2 separate regions of the Homo sapiens genome follow, and region 1 is linked to region 2. Evidence: promoter capture Hi-C in human tissues and cell types (Jung and others, 2019). All regions are on one chromosome and are shown on one strand. Each heading gives the region's core, a stretch centred on a gene start or on the middle of the fragment in contact. The rest is flanking DNA. Distances are from core to core; before and after follow the strand shown.

The links. Contacts are between HindIII fragments. The study calls those that stand out against the background at their distance.
Region 1: a fragment that was not itself captured here is called in contact with the fragment with the promoter of OR8B8 in region 2 in 1 of the 25 tissues and cell types used here (H1 embryonic stem cells).

What each region holds. Positions count from the first base shown.
Region 1 is chr11:124,476,170-124,483,047 of GRCh38, forward strand. It overlaps the pseudogene OR8B9P. Among named protein-coding and RNA genes, the nearest start is that of OR8B8, 34 kb to the left of the region's middle. The HindIII fragment of the contact is 5,845 bases long and covers 157-6,001 here.
Region 2 is chr11:124,442,504-124,448,784 of GRCh38, forward strand. OR8B8 (olfactory receptor family 8 subfamily B member 8) reads right to left here and starts at 3,193. Exons shown (of 3, transcript NM_012378.2): 1 at 3,073-3,193. The HindIII fragment of the contact is 11,421 bases long and covers 1-5,663 here.

The DNA.
Region 1 (6,878 bases), core at 1,829-4,328, 34 kb after region 2:
CAAATCACGGGGTGGAGGTGGAAAATCAGAAGAAACCAAAATGTTGCCAGAGTTGAAATTACCATGGGTTATCTGTGTTGCTTCCTCTCCTCTCCTCTATCCTCTTCTGTCCTGTTCATTCTCTAACCCATGCCTCTTCTGTGTTTGATTTCTCTTCTTGTTGCCTAATAATATCCTATGCTCCCTCCTCTTTAAGTCATTTCCATTGGAAGATACATCCCTAAATCCCCTTTTATTAAATTTCAAAACAAAAAAGGGTCTCTAGATACATAAATATGTAGGTAGATAGATAGAAGGTACAGAGATATGCTTGTGTATACCTATTCTATTTCTGGGAATAGTTGCATCCAGGAGGAAGAACATAAGCATGGGTGAACTGATGTGAAAGGAAACCTTATTTCTACTGTATACTTTTTTGTACTGTTTAATTTTTTACCATGACATGTATTCTCAAGAAAAATGTATTCCTTCTTAAGTGGAAGCTGTTAATCACCCACCCATAATCTAATTACTGCCATCTGCAGAAGAAAACAAATCCTACAGCAAACATCTTATTCAACAGTGAAAGCCTTAATGCCTTTACCCTAAGGTCAGAAACAAGACAGGGTCATCCATTCTCATCTCTATTAATCATTGTATTGGAAGTCTTAGACAGGACACTGAAAAAAATAAAATAGATAAAAGGTATAAAGACCATTAAGGAAGAATCAAACCTGTCTTTATTTGCAGATTACATGAGTATATACAGAAAAAACAAAGTACAAATTCTTAGTTTCTCTTTTGTCGAGTTTAGCTAACAATTAGATTTCATAAGTGAAATAACAAAGATGCTAGATACAAATTCAGTATACAAAAAACAACTGTGCTACTACATACTACTAATAATTGAAAATTAAATTTTAAAAAGTTATTTAAAATAAAGTAAAAGGTATGAAAGGTATGAAATTCCACTTCGAAACAAGAAAAGCATGTCTGTTTTCCTCATTACTATTCACCATTGTAATGGGAGAATACAGCACTTTGGCTCCATGTCAACTTCTCTCAAATTAGTCCCACTAAATTATTGTCACTTGATCTTCAAATACACACGTACAAATATAGCCAATACAATTCAGGGAGGAGAGAAGGTCTTTTCAATAAATGATGCTGATGCAACTTAATATCTTTATGAAAGAAATAAAACAACTGCACACCATACATGATAACTGATTTAAAATTGATCTAAAATCTAAATTTTAAAGGAAAAATCATGAAGCTTTCAAAGGAAAACCTGAGAATGACTTTGTGACTATGTAGTAGGAAAAAAATTAAACAGAAGAAAGCATGAACAGTAAAAGAAGTGGACAAATGAACTTTATTCAAATTGAAATTGAAATATCATTATCAAAGGACATAATTAATGAGTAGTCATGGGGCAAGCCAGAGACTGAGTAAAGATAACTGCAATGTGTGTGTCTGAAAAAGTACTCATATCCAGATTATACGTTTTAAAAAACTAATCAATAAGAAAAAAGAATAACAACACTTTTTTTTTTTTTTTTTGAGATGGAGTCTCACTCTGTCGCCCAGGCTGGAGTGCAGTGGCGCGATCTCGGCTCACTGCAACCTCCGCCTTCTGGGTTCATGCCATTCTCCTGCCTCAGCCTCCCAAGTAGCTGGGACTACAGGTGCCCACCACCACACCAGGCTAATTTTTTTGTATTTTTAGTAGAGACGGGGTTTCATCATATTAGCCAGGATGGTCTCGATCTCCTGACCTCTTGATCCGCCTATCTTGGCCTCCCAAAGTGCTGGGATTACAGGTGTGAGCCACCGTGCCCAGCAACAACACTATTTTTAAGTAGCCAAATGACTTGAACAGGCACTTCACAAATGGTGATGTCCAAATAGCTAATGAACATATAAAAAGTGCCCAACAAGGCTGGGTGTGGTGGCTCACACCTGTAATCCCAACACTTTGGGAGGCCAAGATGAGAGGATCACTTGAGCCCAGGTATTTGGTAACAGCCTGGGTAACATAGTGAGACCTCATCTCTACAAAAAATAGAAAAAGTGGCCAGGTGTGGTGGCATGTACCTATAGTTCCAGTTGCTCAGCAGGCTGAGACAGGAAGATAGCTTGAGCCCAGGAGTTCAAAGCTCCAGTGAGCCATGATCACACCATCGCACTCCAGCCTGACAACAGAGCAAGACTTTGTCTGTTAAGAAAAGGTCAGGAGTTCGAGGCCAGCCTGGCCAACATAGTGAAACCCCGTCTCTAGTAAAACTACAAAAATTAGCCAGGTGTGGTGGCAGGCTCCTGTTACCCCAGCTACTCGGGAGGCTAAGGCAGGAGAATTGCTTGAACCTGGAAGGTGAAGGTTGCTGTGAGCCGAGATCATGCCACTGCACTCCAGCCTAGGCGACAGAGCAAGACTCCGTCAAAAAAAAAAAAATCATTATTTATCAGGGAAATATCTAAAAGACTAAAGCAATACTGTACTACACACCCAACGGAGTAATTAAAATGAAAAATACTGAAAATAAGGATGAAGAGTATCCTTTTCTGGAATTTATTGATGGGAGTGCAAATCAGTTTAAATATTTTGGAAGACAATTTGATAGCATTTAGAAGCCTAAACATATGCCTACCTTGTGACCCATAAAATCTACATCTAGGTATATACCCAAACAAAAATAAGTGTATATTTCCAGCAAAATACATGTTCAAGAATGTTTATAGGCCAGGCATGGTGGCTTATGCCTGTAATCCCAGCACTTTGGGAGGCCGAAGCAGACAGATCACGAGGTCAGAAGTTGGAGGCCAGCCTGGGCAACATGGTGAAACCCTGTCTCTACTAAAAATACACAAATTGGCTGTGTGTGGTGGTGGGTGCCTGTAATCCCACCTACTTTGGAGGCTGAGGCAGGAGAATGATTTGAACCCGGGAAGTGGAGGTTGCAGTGAGCCGAGATCGTGCCATTGCACTCCAGCCTGGGCAACAGTGCGAGACTATGTCTCAAAAAAAAAAAAAAAGGAATGTTTATAACAGCTTTATTAATAACATGTAGAAATTGAAAACAAGGCAAATGTCCATAAAGAAGATATTGATAAGCAAATTGCTCTACATTCTTACAATGGAATACTAAAATAAACAGCAATAACCAAGAAAACTGTTATGGATGAATCTCACATGACTCTCTATGTTAAGTGAAACGTAAGAAAGTAAATGCACTATTTAACATTTATATGAAGTTCAAGCACGAGAAAAATGAAACTGTGATGATAAAGTAAGAATAGTGAATATTTCCAGGAAGAGCATGGGGAGTAGTAATTACTGGGAAAGGGCAGGCAGGAGTACCCTGAAATGATAAAAAATCTGCTATATTTTCATTTGGGTGGAGGTAAGTAATCATAGCCTTATAAATGTGAAAAAAAATCATCGAGCAGTTAATGTTTGTGCACTTCACTGTAAAATTTATATTTCAATTTAAGAAGGAGTAGGGTGTTTTCATTGTACTGATTCTCCACCATTCCCAGTGCACCCTCAATCCATGTGTCTTGAATTTCATCATCATTCATCTCCCTTAGCATCAAAACACAACCCTCCCCTACACTTTCATTTCCTGAATTCTATCCTCGTTAAACCAAAAGATTCCAAAGGAAGAAAGCTAAACATTAATCCGAACTTCCCCTTTTTCTAATAGAAGATAACTTTTCAAAGTTTGTAAATTAAACTATCTTCCAGACAGTTCATATGCCATGACTTCTGAAATAATTGTTACCATTACTAATGTATTCAGATCAAAAAAATTACTCTCATTCGTTATACAAAGTTGTACTTCCACTTACCCAATGCTGTGAATATATGACCTCTCCTAAGACCACCGTCCCTTCCCTTTATGCCCTATTGTTATTAATAGAAGGTCACAGATATATGCAATGTCTTAACTATATAATGGCAATTGCCTCCCCTAACAACTAGTTGGCTGCCGTGGTTCTAATGGCTCACTTATCCAGAGCTGTCTATTACTAATTTACATTATTCAGACCTTTGAGGTGAGGCTCCAAATTCTGTCTCCGTTAATCTTCAGATGAAGAATAAAGCTTGTATCTAACAAATTTAACTCCCTCAACTCTGTTTATCTCTCCCTTAGAAGGCCTTCTATTGTAAGCCTTCACTCAAGGCTCTATACCATCTCCATGGGCACCATCCTTGATTCTATAAGGAACCTAATCTACTTCTCACTCACACACCCCAAAATTCTTTAAAATTTTCTCTTATCTTTTTGTCAAGACCACATCAACCACATTTTTCACTTCCAACACTCTTGCAAAAATGTTATTCCAAAAATTAACCTTTGAAAAGTTGCATGACATCACTATGAATATAATTAGATATCTTTAAATGCAAAAAAAAAAATTTTAAATGAAATCAGTCAGGGAAACGATGGAACAAGGAAGTGTAGCTGAAGAAAAACACAGCAGATTGTATTAAAATTCAAGAGCCTGGACTCTAGTTTCAGCTCTGGCATCAGGTACATGTGTGTCCTTTGGCAGCCTACAAAATATTTTTGAGTGTGATGTATTGCATGAGGAGACTGGAGTAAATGATTTCATAAGCCTATTCAAGATTAAACCCTGTATAACAGTAGAAACTATTCTCATAAAATAACAATTGGAATAGTTGGTGTGGATAAGCAGTGCAGGGTGTAAGTGCACTTAAGAATACATTTAAAATTTTTCTCTAAGTATAGGAGAGAAAGCAGTGGCATTTGTTCCCTCACTGAAAAAAAGAAAAGAAACCCCCTGATTAACAAAGGTTTGGATTCCCTTTCTCATTCATTTTTAAGAGACTAATTTTCTGCAAAAGGTTCTCCTCAGGGCAACTTTGACATCTTTATTCCTCAGGCTGTAGATTAATGGGTTAAACATGGGCACCACAGCAGTACAAAAAATGGAGGACACTTTCCCCTGGTCCAGGGGTAGAATAGAAGGTGGTTTGAGGTACATGAAAGCACCTGACCCAAAGAAAAGCGATACCACAATTATGTGGGAACTGCAGGTACTGAAGGCTTTAGACCTGCCCTCTGTGGAACTAATGTGGAGAATGCTGGAAAGAATAAAACCATAAGAGAGAAAAATGGTGACAATCGGCACCCCAATGCCAACGGTCACAATAATAAAAACCACCAGCAAATTTATGTAAGAGCTGTTGCAGGAGAGCTCAAGGAGAGGAAGGATGTCACACATATAGTGATTGACAAGGTTGTCTCCACAAAAGGACATAAACATTATGTTTCCCATATGAGCCACAGCCCCAAAATCCCCATCCCATAGACACCCAGTAAAAGGAGCAAACACATCTGGGGAGACATGGTGACCGTGTACAACAGTGGGTTACAGATGCCCACGTAGCGGTCATACGCCATCGCTGATAGAATATAGGATTCAGAAAAGACAAAGAAACAGAAGAAAAAAAGCTGAGTCATACACCCTGCATAGGAAATGATGTTCTCTGAGACAAAGCTCATCAGCATTTTAGGGGCGAGGGTAGTGGAATAACTAAAATCTATGAAGGACAAGTTGAAGGGGAAAAAGTACATGGGGATATGCAGGCGAGAGTTGAGCCCTATCAGGATTATCAAGCCCAGGTTCCCCACCACCGTGACCGCGTAGAAACCTAGAAACAGGAAGAAGGCGGGGATCTGGAGTCCCGGCTGGTCGGTTAAGCCTGAGAGGATAAACGCTGTCACGGAGGAGGAGTTCTTGGCAGGCATTCTCCTCTAGGACTGTCTGTGAGAGAAAAAGAAAGAGTCACTCAGAAAGAGAGAAAGGCTACACACACCGGGAGGTTAATGGAAATTAAGGTAGTGGGAGGGAGAAGAAAAGAAACATTTACTGAGCACTAACTATGGGATAGGCACTGTTCTAAACGCTGTGTGGCGTTACACTCATCCCTGTCTGGGTTACCTGCACAAAGTCCCAGGGCTATAGAGTTGCCGCAGCAGGAGAGCTCTGCGGTCTGACTCCCCTGGTCTGAGCATTTTTGTGGGGGTGGGGTGGGGGGGGTGGCAGGGATAAAGACTTTATTTTCCACTGTATAATCTCAATGTTCACTTGGTTTTTAGTTGTTTTTTTTTTTTTTTAACACAAATTAACCATTTAAAACTTGTAATTAAATGATACTCAATTACAGAGGAAAATATCCACAGTGCTATAGAAAAAAAAATACCAATGGACACAGGAAATATTATCAACATGACTCATCATTAAATAAATGCAGATTGAAGGTAGGAACAATGATATGAGTTAGTGTGCGCTTCACAGGAACATCGAAATTACTCCTCTTATCTTCTCACAGTTGACACTGAGCCTTCAGTGACAAGCCGGGGCTCTGACAGCTGAGAGTGGTCTGAGCTTTCTTTTAACCACTCTGCTGTGGCACCCAGTGGCTGTGGCACCCAGTGGCTCAGACAGGCACTCACCCCCTTCAGCTTGGAGCCATGGTGCTGCTCTCTACTGCCCGTTGCCCATCTCTTTCACGGAAACCCAGTGGCCCTGCTGAAAAGAATGTGACAACTTGGAGCCCAGGCCCCTCTGCTTCTGCTTCTCCACCTTGAGAATCCTTATTCTCTTTGAGAATCTTGGTTCTCTTGCAGAGCTGAAGAAAACGATCTCTGATTGTGACTTTGCCCCAAGGCTTCTGCCCAGCTTCCAGGAATGAGACAGCAGTCTTTCCTAACACCGTGGATAACAGGCGTCTGGAGAGTTTTATTCTGGAGTACAGACCTCGGAGTGGCTACAGAGCCTCCCTCAGGGCCATTGCCAGAGACCAAGTTCCCTGAGGAAAAGGAAATGTTTGTTTACACTCTTGATCATACTTTTAATGTATGTAT
Region 2 (6,281 bases), core at 1,943-4,442:
AAACCAATCTGTCTTTTCTTGGAATTTGAGCTTGACAGTAAAAATCAATCTCGATTGGTTAAGAGTTTTTTCCAAAATTGCTAACTTGTTGGGATTCCCCTAGATGGCCCCTGTCCTCTATCGTTGTTCTTTCCAGTGTTATTTTCAGCTTTCCTCATCGTGAGCCTGAAGGCCTTGTAGCTTGATTCTCCTTCTTCCCACGGGATATTTGCTTTCTCGTTTTGCTTGCTTTGTTCTTTTCATAACTCCCCTCTCTCGTGACAAAAGTCATCCCTTCTGTGTTCTAGCCTCTCAGAGCCTTGCTTGAGCTCAGTGACAGCTAGTTATCATTCTTGGAGCCCCATAAATTTGAATCAATATTTAAAAATCATCTAATCCTGTGGTTCATAAACCTGGCTGTGCAAATGAATTAGATAACTATATGCTTATTAAAAGTACAGATCCTGCTGCCCCAAGCCAGGCATCATAAATTAGAATCTCCAGGGGTGGGATTTTATAACTTATATTTCTCACCCTATTGATCTGGATATTTAGACAGGTTTCACCCTATTGATCTGGATGTTTAGGCAGGTTTGGGATTCAATGCCCTAATACTCTATCTACCCTACGTTTTCTAGACAGGAAAATTGAAGTCCACCAGTCAGAGTTGGTTGGTGGTGAAGTCCAGAATAAAACTTGGGTCTCCAGTCTTTCCAGTTACATTGTCTGGAGGAAGTTCACCTGGCCTTTAGTTCGGCTGGAATGTAGAGTACAGGGAGGGATATAGTTGTGCATCAACCCTGGAATAGCATCCCAGGTTCCTGCTGTGGAGAGACTTGAACGTCATGACAGGAATTACGTATGCAATGTGAATCCATGGAATATATTGAATATGAGAGTGACATGGTCAGAGTTGTGGGGAGGGAGGCCAATTAGTCTATTGGGCTACTGGGTGTTGATGACTTGATGCCATGTTCCCCCCAAATGCTATGTTTAATGTGTAATTCAGACACGATGCCATAGCTCAAAGCACCAGCAATAAGATAAAGGATGAATTTTCAAAACAAGTAGCAGGTAAATGGAGCAAAAGGCCTTTCTAAGCTTTTTAGCACATGACAAGTCACATAACGCTGGCCCTGTCTTCTAGCTGTGTTGTTCTCTGCCTACTATCCTGAATATTTTCACCAGGTCTGAGTTCAGGTCCCATCACCAAGCTCTCTGTGTTGCACATGTTTTATGCCTCATTTTATATTACTCAGCCTATCTTTTGGGCTTCTGCTGTTGCTGTGGCAGTGAGCTGCATCCAGCTATAGCCCAATAACAATGTTTCTTGACTACACTACGTATCCCCTCCTTTCAGCCCTAGGACACCTCTGCCACCACAAAGTGGTACATCTGAGAATCCATTCAGCCATTATGGTGCACGTGCTGATCTGTAAGCGTGAAGGAATTAACACCCCTGGGAGTCAGTGGGTAAATGTCTCCCTTTTGTGTATCTCCAGTGGTTCATTCTTCTTAGTACATCAAAAGATCTCAGAGGAACTAATCCTAAATTCCCCATTAAGGTAACATATAACAGAACCTTTTATTGGTTTTCTATACTTCCCTGTTTTTCTCTCTCTCTTTTCCCTGGGATGACTTCTAAAAATAAGCTATCTGCATGTATGGCCTTGTCCCCAGCACAGCTTTTTATGGAAATCCCAGCTAAGGTACTCCTAAAACAGTATTCGGATCAGGTTTCAACAAAATGTTCCTTACTCCACCTGGGAGGAAGCATCCTCACCCAAGTCTCTTTGATTCCAGGACAAGAAACTAAATATGCATCAGTAAATTCATCAAGGACCTGAAATTATTCAGTACCATGTTTCAGAGAATTTTTATGTCTTGAGCATGACCTATCAAAACACCTAAATGCCAGAAGGAGTAATCTCAAATAATTATCGGCTCACACCTTAATAGGGATTAGCCACGACAAATCCTACAGTACTTTGTTCTTAGATCTCTTGCAGCTCTACTCACAATGTATTACTGTCCTGTCCCTCCATGAACTATAATGATGCTAGCAACATTGTAGTTTTATTCACTTTTATATCTTTGAATCATATAGCTCACAAAATGTTCATTAATCTCTAATTCTCAATCTCCTCATCTATAAAATGGGGATGATGGCGATAATTCACAGTGTCGTTGTTGTGAGAGTTAAATTAAATCATGAAAGTGGAAGAGCCGAGAAGAGTGGTTGACAAAAGAAAGAGCCCTGATAAATGCTGTAGAAAATAGACATAAAACAAATATGAAATGCATATATCCTAGGGATGGCATGAGGGAAGGAAAAATCTTGCTTAAAGCTGAATGAGCCTGAAAGAGACAAGAGAGGGTCTGCCATAGGGCAGAGGAGACAGCTGACAAGAGTGAGAAGAGCCTGGGAACAATACACTCTTCAAACTTTAAGGCCTGTCTCTCCAACATAACCCAATCCACAGACAACATCAGGCCCTTGAGTATATTACCCTGTCCCTACTTCCTGTCCTACCACCAATGCCTATTTTTCAAATATCCACATTCTATCACACCACAAAAGCCAAATTCCAAAATCAGGTAAGGGTTTCTTTACAGCCTCCCATTTTCTCTTCCTATACCCATCTCTAGTCTCCTAGTCTCAGCAAAAATTCCTCTTCCCCAACATTCACAATCTTAGTGCTACTTTCCTTCAATTCTCTGTCAAAACTAAGTTTTCAAGAAGAATCTCACAAATTCATCAGCACACAGTCTACTACAACTTGCTGGGGACAATCCACATTCTTCACCCTCTTCCAGGCATTTCTTAAAATGAAGACAAAGTCTTTAGCAAAAAAAAAATAGATCTCTAGTTATGAAATTTCAAACAGCACTCAGTTAATGAGAGGTACATTTTGGTCAGGATAAGGCAGCTGAAGTGGTGGCTTCACAATTAGAGCCCCATTGGCAGCTGTCTGACCTCCATGCAGCAAGCTAATTACCACCCTTCTTCCAGTCCTGTGTGTGTAGTGGGTGTGTGTGCGCACACACGTGTGTGTGTTTTGTGTATAAGTGCTGGGTAACATTTGAACATACCTCAGAGCTTGCTCCTCTGCCACATGTGGAATGTATTTTAGTCACTGCTCAGAAACAAGATGCCTCAAGTGTAACTCTTATACCTAGAAATCTGCCACTCCCTCAGTGATTATGAGAAACCTCAATCCTTGCTCTCATTCCCACTGTAGTCAACTCACAATTTAAGAAAATAAGTCATTATTACAAGCATGAAATGAGTCCCACAGGAAAGGTGCTCCTTAGGGCACAGAAAGCAAGACTCCGGCTTCATTAAAAGTTGACTTTTCTCTGGGAGCCTTAGAGGATTCCTGTTTGGATGGTAGAACAACCAAGAAAAGTTCTTCTGGATGTATGTCATTTTAAAGCCTGTTGCCATGGAAACTACTCTTCAAAATCCTCTCAACTGGGGCTTTACTAAAGTCTTGTTGCCTGAGGAGCAGATGAAGCCCAAGCAGGAAGCAGTGTAGGAAGAACTATTCTTAACTCTGTTCCTTTTGTTGCAGAACTGCCCTCCTTCCAAAACTTGGATTTCTGTATAGTGCTTCTTTGTTTTATTTATTTCTATTTTTTCCTAACTTTTCAAAATTACATTCTAATTTGTGTGATTTCATATGTGACACATGAATATGAGTCAATACAATGTTTCTCACACACACACATTAACCCTCAGACTTCTGGTGGCACAAGGTTGGACCCAACTGCAGCAACCATCACAGCATACCAAGAAGACCAAGTACAAGTTTCATAAGAAATTACAGAACCTGATCAGAGAAAAAAGATGGCAACTGAAAGGTCTTCATTTGAAATGGCCTTCATTCACTCCTGAGAAAGCAATATCAGCAGTAATCTGTTTCTGCATTATACTTAATCTGACTTTACTTTTATTATTTTCAACTCATTGATATACAAACCTATGCATAAATTATATATGTATTTAATATAGAATTCTAGAGTTAGATGGGACCTTGGAGGTCTATGTTGGGGAATAATTACCATGTATAAACACATATGTATCAACCACTGTGCAGAAAGTTTTATATACATTATGTCATTTGTAGAAAATGAGTAATCTGCACAAAGTGCAAAGCTGACATTTTAAAAAACATCATCCAATCATATTTTAGTATCATTAGTATTAAGAATACTAATACTAGTACTAATATGTTATACTTTGTAAGTGCTGACCATGTGCTAGGAACTATCCTAAATGCTTTACACATATTAATGCCATTAGTTTTCACGAGTTATATTAAATGGTTACTTTTATTATCCTACTCTGCACAAGAACATTTCCTTGAATTAAAAAAATCAAACCTGTTTATCTGTTAGTTGGGACAACCTTGTCTCTTTAGGCCTCAAGTATTTGTAGTGATAGAGGATTAATAAATTTGCTAGATTAATGGTTATAAAGGAAGAATCGAGAGGGAAGACCAAGTGTCAAAGGTTACTAAAGTCTCAACCCCAGGGCCTAGAAATAAGGAAGTAAAGAGATAAATAAAGAGGTAGAATTTAGACCTGACTTTCATGTGCTGAAAGTACATGTAAGAGCAAATGGTCAGTAGTGAGTCATCAGCATGAGATCAGAGCTGAGAAAAAGATATCAAGACACATATTGAGAAGTCATGTAAATAAAAGTGATTGCAGAAACTACAAGTTAAGGGTAAAGGGTGGAACCATATAATTATCCATGATCAATAAAAGGGAAGGAGAAAACTGTTAGTAAATTTGTCAGAGAAGGCAAATATGGTACCCTGAGCAGGCTTTGTAGCAAAATGACCTGGGATCTCCTTAGGTCTCCCACTAGCCAAGCGAGCTTACGCTATTTGGACTTCAGTAACTACATCTGAAATCAGATATGTTAGCACCTAGCATACAAGATTGTATGAGGATCAACTATCATAGTGTTCAATAAGTAGCTTCGAATTAACAAAGTGTTATAGACTTACTGAAGTATTATTACTACACATCTTTTTTATCCACTTAGTCTAATTTATCCTGCTTTAGGAGTTACTTACCCCAGCCACAATTATGTTATAAGCTACTAAAGTCAAGATCATATGTTTGGAACTGGGGGCTATGCCTGTAATTTCAACAACTAAGGAGGCTAAGGCAGGATGATCATTTGAGGCTAGGAGTTTGAGACCAGTCTGGGAAAAATAGAGAGACTTTGTCTCTTAAAAGTAAATAAATAAATAAATAAATAGCCAGGGTGGTGGCACACATCTGTAGAGTCAACTACTTGGAAGGCTAAGGCAGGAGGATCTCTTGAGCCCAGGAGTTGAAGGCTGCAGTGAGCTATGATTACACCACTGCATTCCAACCAGGGTGACAGAGCGAGACCCTGTCTCTAGAAAAAAAAAAATCATATCTAGTTTAAAAATCTAGTCAGAGCAAGATGGCTGATTAGAGATACCTGACTGTCATCTCTCCCACAAGAAAAGACCAAGACAATGAATAAACAGCCAAGACTAGACTGGAGTGTCAATGTGAGAGCACCAGAATGCAGCAAGGGAGTGGAGATGCATCTGTGATGATGGAAAATCCAAGAAGGCAGACTCTGCATCCATGTCTCCCCAGTCCAGATCAGACTGGCCCAGAAACAGGAGGGACTTCTCATTACAGGGAAAATACATACTCCCAGGCCAGCAAAGCAGCTGTGTACCTATGTGCTGGACCTGAGAAAGAGCCCTGGGAACCAACCATAGGCCAGCCAAGCAGACTTGTGCCCACATCACAGGCCTAACAAACAGTCTCATGAGCTGCCCCTAGTAGACACACTCCCAGGCTGAATGAGCAGCTGTACACCCATGTCTTGAGCTGGAGGAAGAGCCCTGTGGGCCACCCCCAGCAAACACACACACCACAGCTGAGAAGCCACGTGACTGTGTCTGGGGCCTGAGAAACACCCCTGTGGGCTACCTCTGGCAGACATGTCACCAAGCTGGCCAAGCAACCACATTCCCATGCAGCCAAGAGTAACAGCCCCATGGCCTCAACTGCAGCAAGGTAGACCCTGAGTTAGTTGGCCCACCAAGTGCATGCACATGTCCCTAACCTGAGAAACAGCCCAGCAAGCCCACCCCTGGCAAAGCTGTACCACCACTGCCATAAACTCTCTCAGTCTAGGCTACCAAGAAACTCACAAATGCCACTAGTGTGGATTACAGCTGAAGAAACTACACAGAAACCACACTATTGGGCTTACCTAGAACCAAGGCCAACACATTCCA